3 separate regions of the Homo sapiens genome follow, and regions 2 and 3 are each linked to region 1. The links are contacts of gene promoters, found by promoter capture Hi-C in blood cells and fetal thymus (Javierre and others, 2016). All regions are on one chromosome and are shown on one strand. Each heading gives the region's core, a stretch centred on a gene start or on the middle of the fragment in contact. The rest is flanking DNA. Distances are from core to core; before and after follow the strand shown.

Region 1 (2,964 bases), core at 153-2,652:
TTGAGTTCAGGAGTTCAAGACAAGCCTGGCCGACATGGTGAAAACCCATCTCTACTAAAAATACAAAAATTAGCTGGGCGTGGTGATGGGTGCCTGTAATCCCAGCTACATGGGAGGCTGAGGCAGGAGAATCACTTGAACCCAGGAGGTGGAAGTTGCTGAGAGCCAAGATTGCACTAGCCTGGACGACAGAGCAAGGCTCTGTCTCAAAAAAAAAAAAAAAAGAAAGAAAGAAAGAAATATTCATCCAGGCACAGTGTCTCATGCCTGTAATCCAAGCACTTTGGGAGGCCAAGGTGGGAGAATCATCTGTAGCCAGGAGTTTGACGCCAGCCAGGGCAACACAGTGAGACCCCTATCTCTACAAAAGCAAAATAAGATTAAAACAAGCTGGGCATGGTGGTGCATGCCTGTAGTCTCAGCTACATGGGAGGCTGAGATGGGAAGATCTCTTGAGCCCAGGAGTTCAAGGTTGCAGTAAGCTATGATCATGTCACTGTCCTCCAGCCTGGGCAACAGAGTGAGACTCTATCTCTAAACAAAGAAAACAAAAGAAATAGGAAACATCACAGTCAATGGGACATTGAACCATTCACCTCTATACATGACATGCGTCATCCCAAGATGGAGGAGTGTCATGGAGAAATCCTGCTGACCAAACAAAAGTAGGAAATGCCACTCAAGTCAATATATAATCAGAGCCCCACCCCACCTCAGAGTACAGTGATCTTCTCCAAGCCTGCAGCGCCTCAGTTAGGAAAGTGAAAGCTTGCAAAAGGCATTGGGGCAACAAAATAGTCTCTATTTCTTATCAGGGACAAAATGTACTTCCTTATCAAACAGAGACCTAACCAAGGACACTCATAAGGCAAGCTGTCAGTTTGTCCTTTATAACCAATTGTAGGCGGTGTGCACCTGTACTGGGCAAGCAGCAGGTCATGTTTACATGAGGAAGAAGCTATCCAGGAAGGCCAGTAAGAGGGGATCTAGTGGGATGGTAAGGATTTCAGTTGTCAGGTCATGGGCTGGCCCAGCCACTTCACTTCTCCAAGCCTTGGTTCCCTCATTTGAAAACAGAGATAACCATCCCCATCTGGTAAGGTTGTAGCCAGGTCAAAGGAAATACCACCTGTAAAACATTAGCATAGGGCAGAGCCTGGCAGAGTCATGTTCAATGAGTGGTAAGGCATACTTTTATCATCAGCAGATCCACTTGACATGGATTATAAATAGCTAAAGAAACAAGTTCATTTTGGTGCATTTCAAAGACATATTAAAGGAAAGGTGGAGGCCAGAAGAGCAGAAGGCTCTGAGAAAAGTGCATCACAGTGGCCCATTATGATGTCTGTCTATGGTCACGTGAGCTGGCATATGAGAGTGCTCTGTGAGCCTCAGTGCCTTCAGTGGCATCATTGCACTGTGACTGTGCAGGTCCCAAACAGTATGGACATGAATGTCCTCAAGCTGCATGTTAGCAGGGCTTCTAATTCCATCTGCAAGTGATAGTGTGTGGAGCTTAGTTGCACAGAGCGCATGTTACTGGAGGAGATATGGGTCTGTGTCATCCTGCATGGGAATGATCCTAAAAACAAAGTGATCAGTGACTGCTCAGGACTGTGGAAAGGTCACTTGGAGCAGTGGGAAAAGGTCTGGCAGAGGAATAAGAAGATACAGGTCTTAGAACAAGCCCTGGGACTTCAACCAAGTCATTTAACATCTGGGGCCTTCGTTTATTTATCCTCCCAGCAGATAAAGCAATACCTGCCCTGTCTTCCTAACCTTGGAGGGGTCAAAAAAGTGATGGGTGTGAAAGCATTTTGTAAACTGTAGTGCAAGCATACGGCAGGGGAGTGAACCATACTTTCACTAGCGACTTGAATGAGGTGATAAAGAAAAGGCTCAGAACTTCAGAAAATGCAAGAGGGGCTTGACCCTGGATTGGCAGAGGAAAGCAATGGTGGGATCGATACCTTGGAGAGCCAAGGACCAAGGGGTTAAGGGTCCATGAGGACAGGCCTGGATCATCAGGAAGCTGAGTGTGGTAAGACTGTGGCTTCTTCAGGGATTGGGTGGAGTACAGTCCTGCCAAGACCACAGTAACTCAGGGCTTGGAGACATCACAAAGGCAGGGGCTCCTAGAGCTGAGATAATCTGGAGAAGAGGATACCCATCTACTGCATTCTGAGATTGGGTTCGACCTGTAGGTCATCTTGGATAGACGTTTTCCAGCTCTTCTTTTTTTTTTTTTTTGGAACAGAGAGAACCTAATTGACCCTTAAAGTTCCACAGAGCAGAGTTTGCAAATCTCTGGTTCAGCCTTATTATTTAAATGAGAGGAGAATGAAATCCCAGAAAAGAGATGTGATTATGTGAAGGTCACACAGCAAGTTAGTTGCCAAGCTGCAACTGGAACTCAGAATTTCTGGTTCCCAGTTCTATATCTTAGCCTCCCAAACTGGCTATGTGGACAGGAAAGAACAGAGTAATGGGGTGAGCTTTAAGGATGCAATTTCATAGGTAAGAAGATCCCTTAATCTAACAATATCTCCCCCAGCTCCCCAACAATGACTAAAATCCCCCCTTTATTGACTCCTTCACAGGATTCCAAGAGTCTCAAGGTTAGAGAAGTCGCCTAGTCCACCTCCCCTCTCTGCTTCTCACAGAAGGGTCTGCTGAACACTCTGGTGACAGAGAACTCACCCAACATGTTCCATGGCAGAGGCTTTTCATTAGATCAAGGTGACATCTGTTTTACTGGAGCTTCCAACCACGTGTCCCAATACTGCCCTTAGTCACAGGCATCCAGGTCCTCTCTCTCAGGACAGCACTTTGAATAAATGAGGACAGCTCCCATCCCCCTTTCTCCCAGTTGACTTTCCAGAAACATCTCATATTGTTGTTGGCTTTCCACCATTTTTCCTCTTCACTTCCTGGGCCTACTACTACACTGTGTGTCCTCCACTT
Region 2 (2,964 bases), core at 1-2,500, 180 kb after region 1:
ACTAGCTAGCATGCAGTGGAAATTCCAATAGAAGGGGAGGCCAGAGAGCTCACTTCGCACCCGTAGAATCAGTGCATCTGCCACACAATCACAGGAGAAGGTAGCTTCGCTAGGGTGAGCAGCGTCCTTCAACAATGGGCGAAGGAGATTATCCAAATGACAGAGGAAAGCTGCAGGAGGAGCAGTGAGCCGCTTGTTCAGCTCCTAAAGAGAGAGCAGTGGTACAGAGTAAGGGTGCTAAAAGGAAACTAATTCCCTCATAAGTAACAGCAAAGGAAAGCCCTGGTTAACACGAAGGCAATGGACATGAGAGGAAGGGGAGAGAAGATAAAAACATCACAAGGGGAAAGAAGAAAACAAAAAGAAGAGAGTCACAAAGACCAATTGGCCTACTTCACAATTCTGCCTTGGGCAAGATTAAATCACAAAAGGCCTATCTAGATCAAATAATATATTCATTATCATGCATAGGGTAGGGAAACTAACTTTCTTTCTCTCTCTCTCTCTCTCTCACACACACACACACACACACACACACACACACACACACACACACACAAAGATTCCAGGCAGAAGTACAGGTAGAAGTACAGGACATTAACTGGAATTGTCTCAACCCGATTCAACCTTCCTTGGGAAACTACAGGCCAGCAAGCTGGTTGATGTTCACATCCCCGACACAGCAGTACTTCTCCTCATACTTACCTTGGCTCGCTGGCTGACCACACTAGTGTCCACCTGTTCATGCCACACCTGTTGAAGATCTGAAACCAACAAGGCATAGCCCTGCTTGGTGATAAAAACCTTGGCCAAGAGGGAGTTCTCTGCAAGCTGTAGCCACGCCCATGGCTGCATCAACAGGCCTTGCTCCAGTTCTTCCATCTGCAAAAAAGTCCTCATTTAGTAAAGAGCCTCAGGGTCATGCTGGCCTAGGGAGGGCACCACCCAAACCAGTCTGTATCAACTAAAATCTCATGAAAATCCTCCCTGATAAAATAGAAGGCATGGATTTACGTTCTCCCAGTATACAACCAGCTGAGCACTGACTTTACTACCTCCTGGCCACTAAAAGTATATTTAAAATCTTGAGGGTTTTTTTTTTCCCATATTACATTCCTAGAGGACAGAAAATCTTTCTTCCATAGTGTTTAAACCTCAGCATATTGCTGTTAGTATTTCTGCTTTCTAATACTATAACATAACGTGGAAACCTAAACCCTTCTTGTTCCATCTTTATCACATTCCTAATAAATATGTCACTCCTATCCTTTCCCAGAACTAGAAGAGAAGGAATAGTTCTTGTCTTATAAAACATCATAAGTCATAGTGTCAGGGCCAGGAAATTCGAAGTATTTGATCATTATCTAAAAACAAAGTTTAGGAAGCTCTCAGGATTTTTTTAAAAATCCCTAAAACAGGTTCTTAATCTAGAGTCAATGCATGTGAATCCTCTAGAATTATATGAAAATGTTATGTGTACACGCATATATGCATGGGGAGGGGGAAGAGGTCTACAGCTATCATCAAACTCTCAGGGATCGATGACACAAAAAAGAGCTAAGAACCTGTGTCCAGGAGCAACAGAAAAGACCTAAATTTCATTTCAACAAAAACCAGAATGACTAGGAAATCATGAATACAAGGCAGAGCACATCACAGAGGTAAAGACTGAATTAACTTCCACTTAACTCATCCTCCACATTCCCACTCCAGTGCACTGCCACCAATGACAACATGCCCAGCCTGGAACCCCTGCAAAACAACTTTTCTATCTCAGCAGCTAAAGTAGTAGGCTTAACCTAGTAGACAATCAGAACTACGGCTGCTTGACAGAGAATGTGATTGTTTTTCCTGTGGGGGAGAAAAAAATATGTCAATTTCCTTCATTATTCCAGTCTACAAATATAAAATGAACAGAAGTACCAGGAAGGAAAAATTTAGAATGTAAATAATGAAATTCCTTATTAAGTCTGATTAACACAGTCATTTCCCCTAGCTTTTGAAGTGTGCCCTTGTGACTTGTGACATAACTTTATATATATATGCATATATATATGCATATATATATATGCATATATATATGCATATATATATGCATATATATATGCATATATATATATGCATATATATACATATACGTGGTGATCTTTCTTTATGGCATCCTCAAAGCCTTGTGTTTGGAGGATGGTGTTTCCGTCACATTTCCCACATGCTGCTCTTATGGGGACAGAAGTGGTCATGGGATGATTAAGCTAGTCCTAGCCGGACAAGAGCTCCACAATGCCAAAGGTCACAAACGCGAATAAAGTCGCCACTTTCATCTCCCTTATAGGCACTCCCCAGTGTACTCTTAACAGTTGCCAAAATTGGGTTTACTATTCTAGCCCATTCCTTCGGAAAGCCCGGAAGCTCAGAACCCTCAAATTGATGGGTTTTGTTTGTCTGTTGGGTAAAGGGGGAGGAGTTTAAAATGTGGCCAGGAGTAACGGGCCCTATAAAAAGGCCTGACACATTGGGCACCAGACCCCGGCTGCCTGCTCCCACCACACGCGTCCCGTTCTGCGTCCGAAGCTTCTACACTTCATCCTTTTCTTTTTTCCTTCAAGGCTGCCTCTAACATTCACATTAACGAGATTCACGGGTTTATTTCTCTTGAGTGGAGGGGCGCTGAGCGGCATCCCGGCGGAGGGGTCCCTTGAGAACCTTTATCTGCACCGAGTCCGCTCCTCAGCAGTGACCCCTCTGGGCAGTTCCTCCGACGCCCTGCAGAGGGCAGTAGAGGCCCAGAGAGCATCCCGGCTGGGCCCCGCCCGGTCCCCCTGGGACAGCGCGAACCCTAGGTCCCACCACAACCATAGCCCCACCCCAGGAGCCGCCAGGCGTCCCGCTTCCACCCGCCCCAGCTATAACAGCCTTCGCTGTCCGCCTTCCCATTTCTACAGCACTGGCTGCACTGGGGCGCGG
Region 3 (2,964 bases), core at 267-2,766, 160 kb after region 1:
GTCTCAATTAAAAAAAAAAAAAAAATTCAACATGTATGTGAAAAAAATCTTCATCTTATGTTTTTAAATTAACTCTAATTATAAATAAGCCACTGATTTTGTAAAAAATAGGCTAAGGCATTGTTAAATTACCATACTGTAACAAATGGATTTTTATGAAACCCTTCTTCTACTAGGGGAAAGAGGAGGGAGACTCAACTGTGTAAATCTTCACAAAAAGCTCTGGAGGTACATGAAGCTTATAGGTTAGGCCCAAAAGGGCTAGGTATTTGTCAGAAGTAAGACATCAAGGCCGGGCACAGTGGCTCACGCCTGTAATCCCAGCACTTTGGGAGGCCGAGGTGGGTGGATCACTCAAGGTCAGGAGTTTGAGACCAGCCTGGCCAACACGGTGAAACCTTGTCTCTACTAAAAATACAAAAAAATTAGCCAGGCGTGGTGGCAGGTGCCTGTAATCTTAGTAATTCAGGAGGCTGAGGCAGGAGAATTGCTTGAACCCAGGAGGCAGAGGTTGCAGTGAGCCGAGATCACCCCACTGCACTCCAGCCTACAGGACAGAGTGAGATTCCGTCTCAAAAGTAAAGAAGTAAGACATCAAACATCATCACTGCCTCACAAATCAAATCTGAACCAAATGGATTTCTTAGACTGGAGATTTAAAGCAAGTAAGTGTGGCTCATGCCTGTAATCCCAGCACTTTGGGAGGCTGTGGCAGGCAAATTGCTTGAGCCCAGGAGTTCAAGACCAGCCCTCGGCTACATAGTGAGATCCTGTCTCTTTTAGAAAACAAATAAATAAATAAATAAACCAAATGAGAGACTAATGGTGGATTTGATGGAGCAAAACAGAGGAAAAAATAGTTTTCACTTTGGCAGAGTTGGTAACTTCCTTTGAGTAAAGTAAGATATACAACCCCCTGGAGCGCAGTCTGTTAAACTGTGCTAGCCTATCCAGGTCTAGATACAGGGACATGCATGATTTCGTTTTCCACAGGCCCCTACAACTCTCTGTTGTCTTCTATCCAGCCTGATATACATGTTTATGTAATATGACTGGCCCCTGCAGATATCTGATTTTGTAATATCTGGTTTTGAGATTTTTTAGGATAAGAGAATTTGAGATATGGGAAACTCCTTTGCTATTGGGATTCTTAGAATCAGAAACCCAAAATGGATAATTTTTACCCCCTTTGTATTCTTTCTTTCTTTTTCTGAGACAGTGTCTTTCTCATAATGTATTCCCACTTGGTTTCTTTTTTTTTTTTTTTTTTTAGAGACAAGGTCTCGCTTTGTCGCTCAGGCTGGAGTGCAGTGATGCAATCTTGGCTGACTGCAACCTCAGCCTCCAGAGTTCAAGTGATTCTCCTGCCTCAGTCTCCCAAGTAGCTGGGATCACAAGCCTGTGCCACCAAGCCCGGCTAATTTTTGTATTTTTAGTAGAGATGGAGTTTCGCCATGTTAGCCAGGCTGGTCTCGAACTCCTGACCTCTGGTGATCCACCCACCTCAGCCTCCCAAACTGTTGGGATTATAGGCGTGAGCCACCACACGTAGCCCCTACTTGGTTTCTTTATTTGTTTGTTTCTTTGAGATGGAGTCTTGCTCTGTTGCCCAGGCTGGAGTGCAGTGGCACAATCTCGGCTCACTGCAACCTCTGCCTCCGAGATTCAAGCGATTCTCCTGCTTCAGCCTCCTGAGTAGCTGGGATTACAGGCACCCACCATTGCACCCAGCTAGTTTTCTTATCTTTAGTAGAGATGGGGTTTCGCCATGTTGGCCAGGCTGATCTCAAACTCCCGACCTCAACTGATCTGCCCGCCTCAGCCTCCCAAAGTGCTGGGATTACAGACCTGAGCCACCGCACCTGGCCCCATTTGTATTTTCTATATTGATTTCCTTTTTTTTCTCTCTCAAAATTTTAACAATTTTTTTAAAAAATTACTTTAAAATTTTTAATAAATTTCCTTTTGAAAACATAAGCCCTTATAAGCCTTTGCAAAAGGAAAATAAAGAAAGAGGTCTTTTTAGCTCTTCTTGAGAAAAAAAAAAAAAAAAAGAAGTGGTAACCCCTGGTTACTACAGGATTCACAGTGAGAAAACCCCAAAGAGAAGGTGAAATTCAGAAAAAACAAAATATAGTTGAGAAACATGCACAGCCATACCTTCCTCCCTGGAGATTTTCATTCCAGAGCTCAAATACTGGTACATTCATATTTTCAGTAAGGAAAACAATTCTTTTATATGCCCACGGTTAAACCGACCCCACCCATGATCTTCCTAGTCTATCAATGGCATCACTATTCTTCAAATCACATAAGCATATGACCAAGAGCCTAATATTCCTAAAGATCACCTTCATATGTCAATTCTCCAGTCAAAACTTTCAATGGCTTCCCACTATCTGCAACAGTAATTAATAAGTGCAAGGAGAATGTGCCCCATCTCCCTCCTAGGAGATGTGTCCCCACTTGAGAATCACAGCACATAATGACAGTCGTTAACAATTGAACTAAATGGAGAAATAAATGTGTTACAGGCAAAAAAAAAAAAAAAAAAAAAACAAAAAAAACTGAAAACCACCTTCAGAATAAAACACTAATCTGCCAGCCCAACATTTAAGGCCCCCACAATTTAGCCTCAAGTTATTATCTTGCTAACTTTATTTTCTACTAATCCTCATCCATTCTTATTCTTATTTTCCATCCTTTGCCCAAGTGCTTCCCACCTAAAATGTCTTCCACATAGTTTTCAATCAAAGCCTAAATCAAAGCCCAGTTCACGTCCTGCCATTTATAGAAAGCTTTTTCTAATCACTCCACTACTATGGCCCTTATTATCATTCACTAAGCACTATAAGCTCTTTGATGGCAATATTATCATACCTTATATGCTCACAGAACCTCATTCAGCCCGCATGCACCTGACCGAATACCGAAAGGATGAATTAACTGCAAGTTTTTCTAGGT

What was found. Contacts are between HindIII fragments. The CHiCAGO score rates a contact against its expected background, and 5 or more counts as called.
Region 2: a fragment that was not itself captured here is called in contact with the fragment with the promoter of LINC00608 in region 1 in 4 of 17 cell types (M2 macrophages, M0 macrophages, endothelial precursors and 1 more); the score reaches 7.1 in M2 macrophages.
Region 3: a fragment that was not itself captured here is called in contact with the fragment with the promoter of LINC00608 in region 1 in 1 of 17 cell types (M2 macrophages); the score reaches 5.5 in M2 macrophages.

What each region holds. Positions count from the first base shown.
Region 1 is chr2:218,974,882-218,977,845 of GRCh38, forward strand. It overlaps LINC00608 (long intergenic non-protein coding RNA 608), which reads left to right and starts at 1,403. Exons shown (of 2, transcript NR_024385.1): 1 at 1,403-2,517; 2 at 2,601-2,964. The HindIII fragment of the contact is 22,563 bases long and covers 767-2,964 here.
Region 2 is chr2:219,157,481-219,160,444 of GRCh38, forward strand. It overlaps NHEJ1 (non-homologous end joining factor 1), which reads right to left. Exons shown (of 8, transcript NM_024782.3): 2 at 706-882; 3 at 1-204. The coding sequence starts at 882. Among named protein-coding and RNA genes, the nearest start is that of NHEJ1, 1.9 kb to the right of the region's middle. The HindIII fragment of the contact is 2,637 bases long and covers 1-2,569 here.
Region 3 is chr2:219,135,035-219,137,998 of GRCh38, forward strand. All of the region lies in intron 5 of NHEJ1 (non-homologous end joining factor 1), which reads right to left. Among named protein-coding and RNA genes, the nearest start is that of NHEJ1, 24 kb to the right of the region's middle. The HindIII fragment of the contact is 2,560 bases long and covers 237-2,796 here.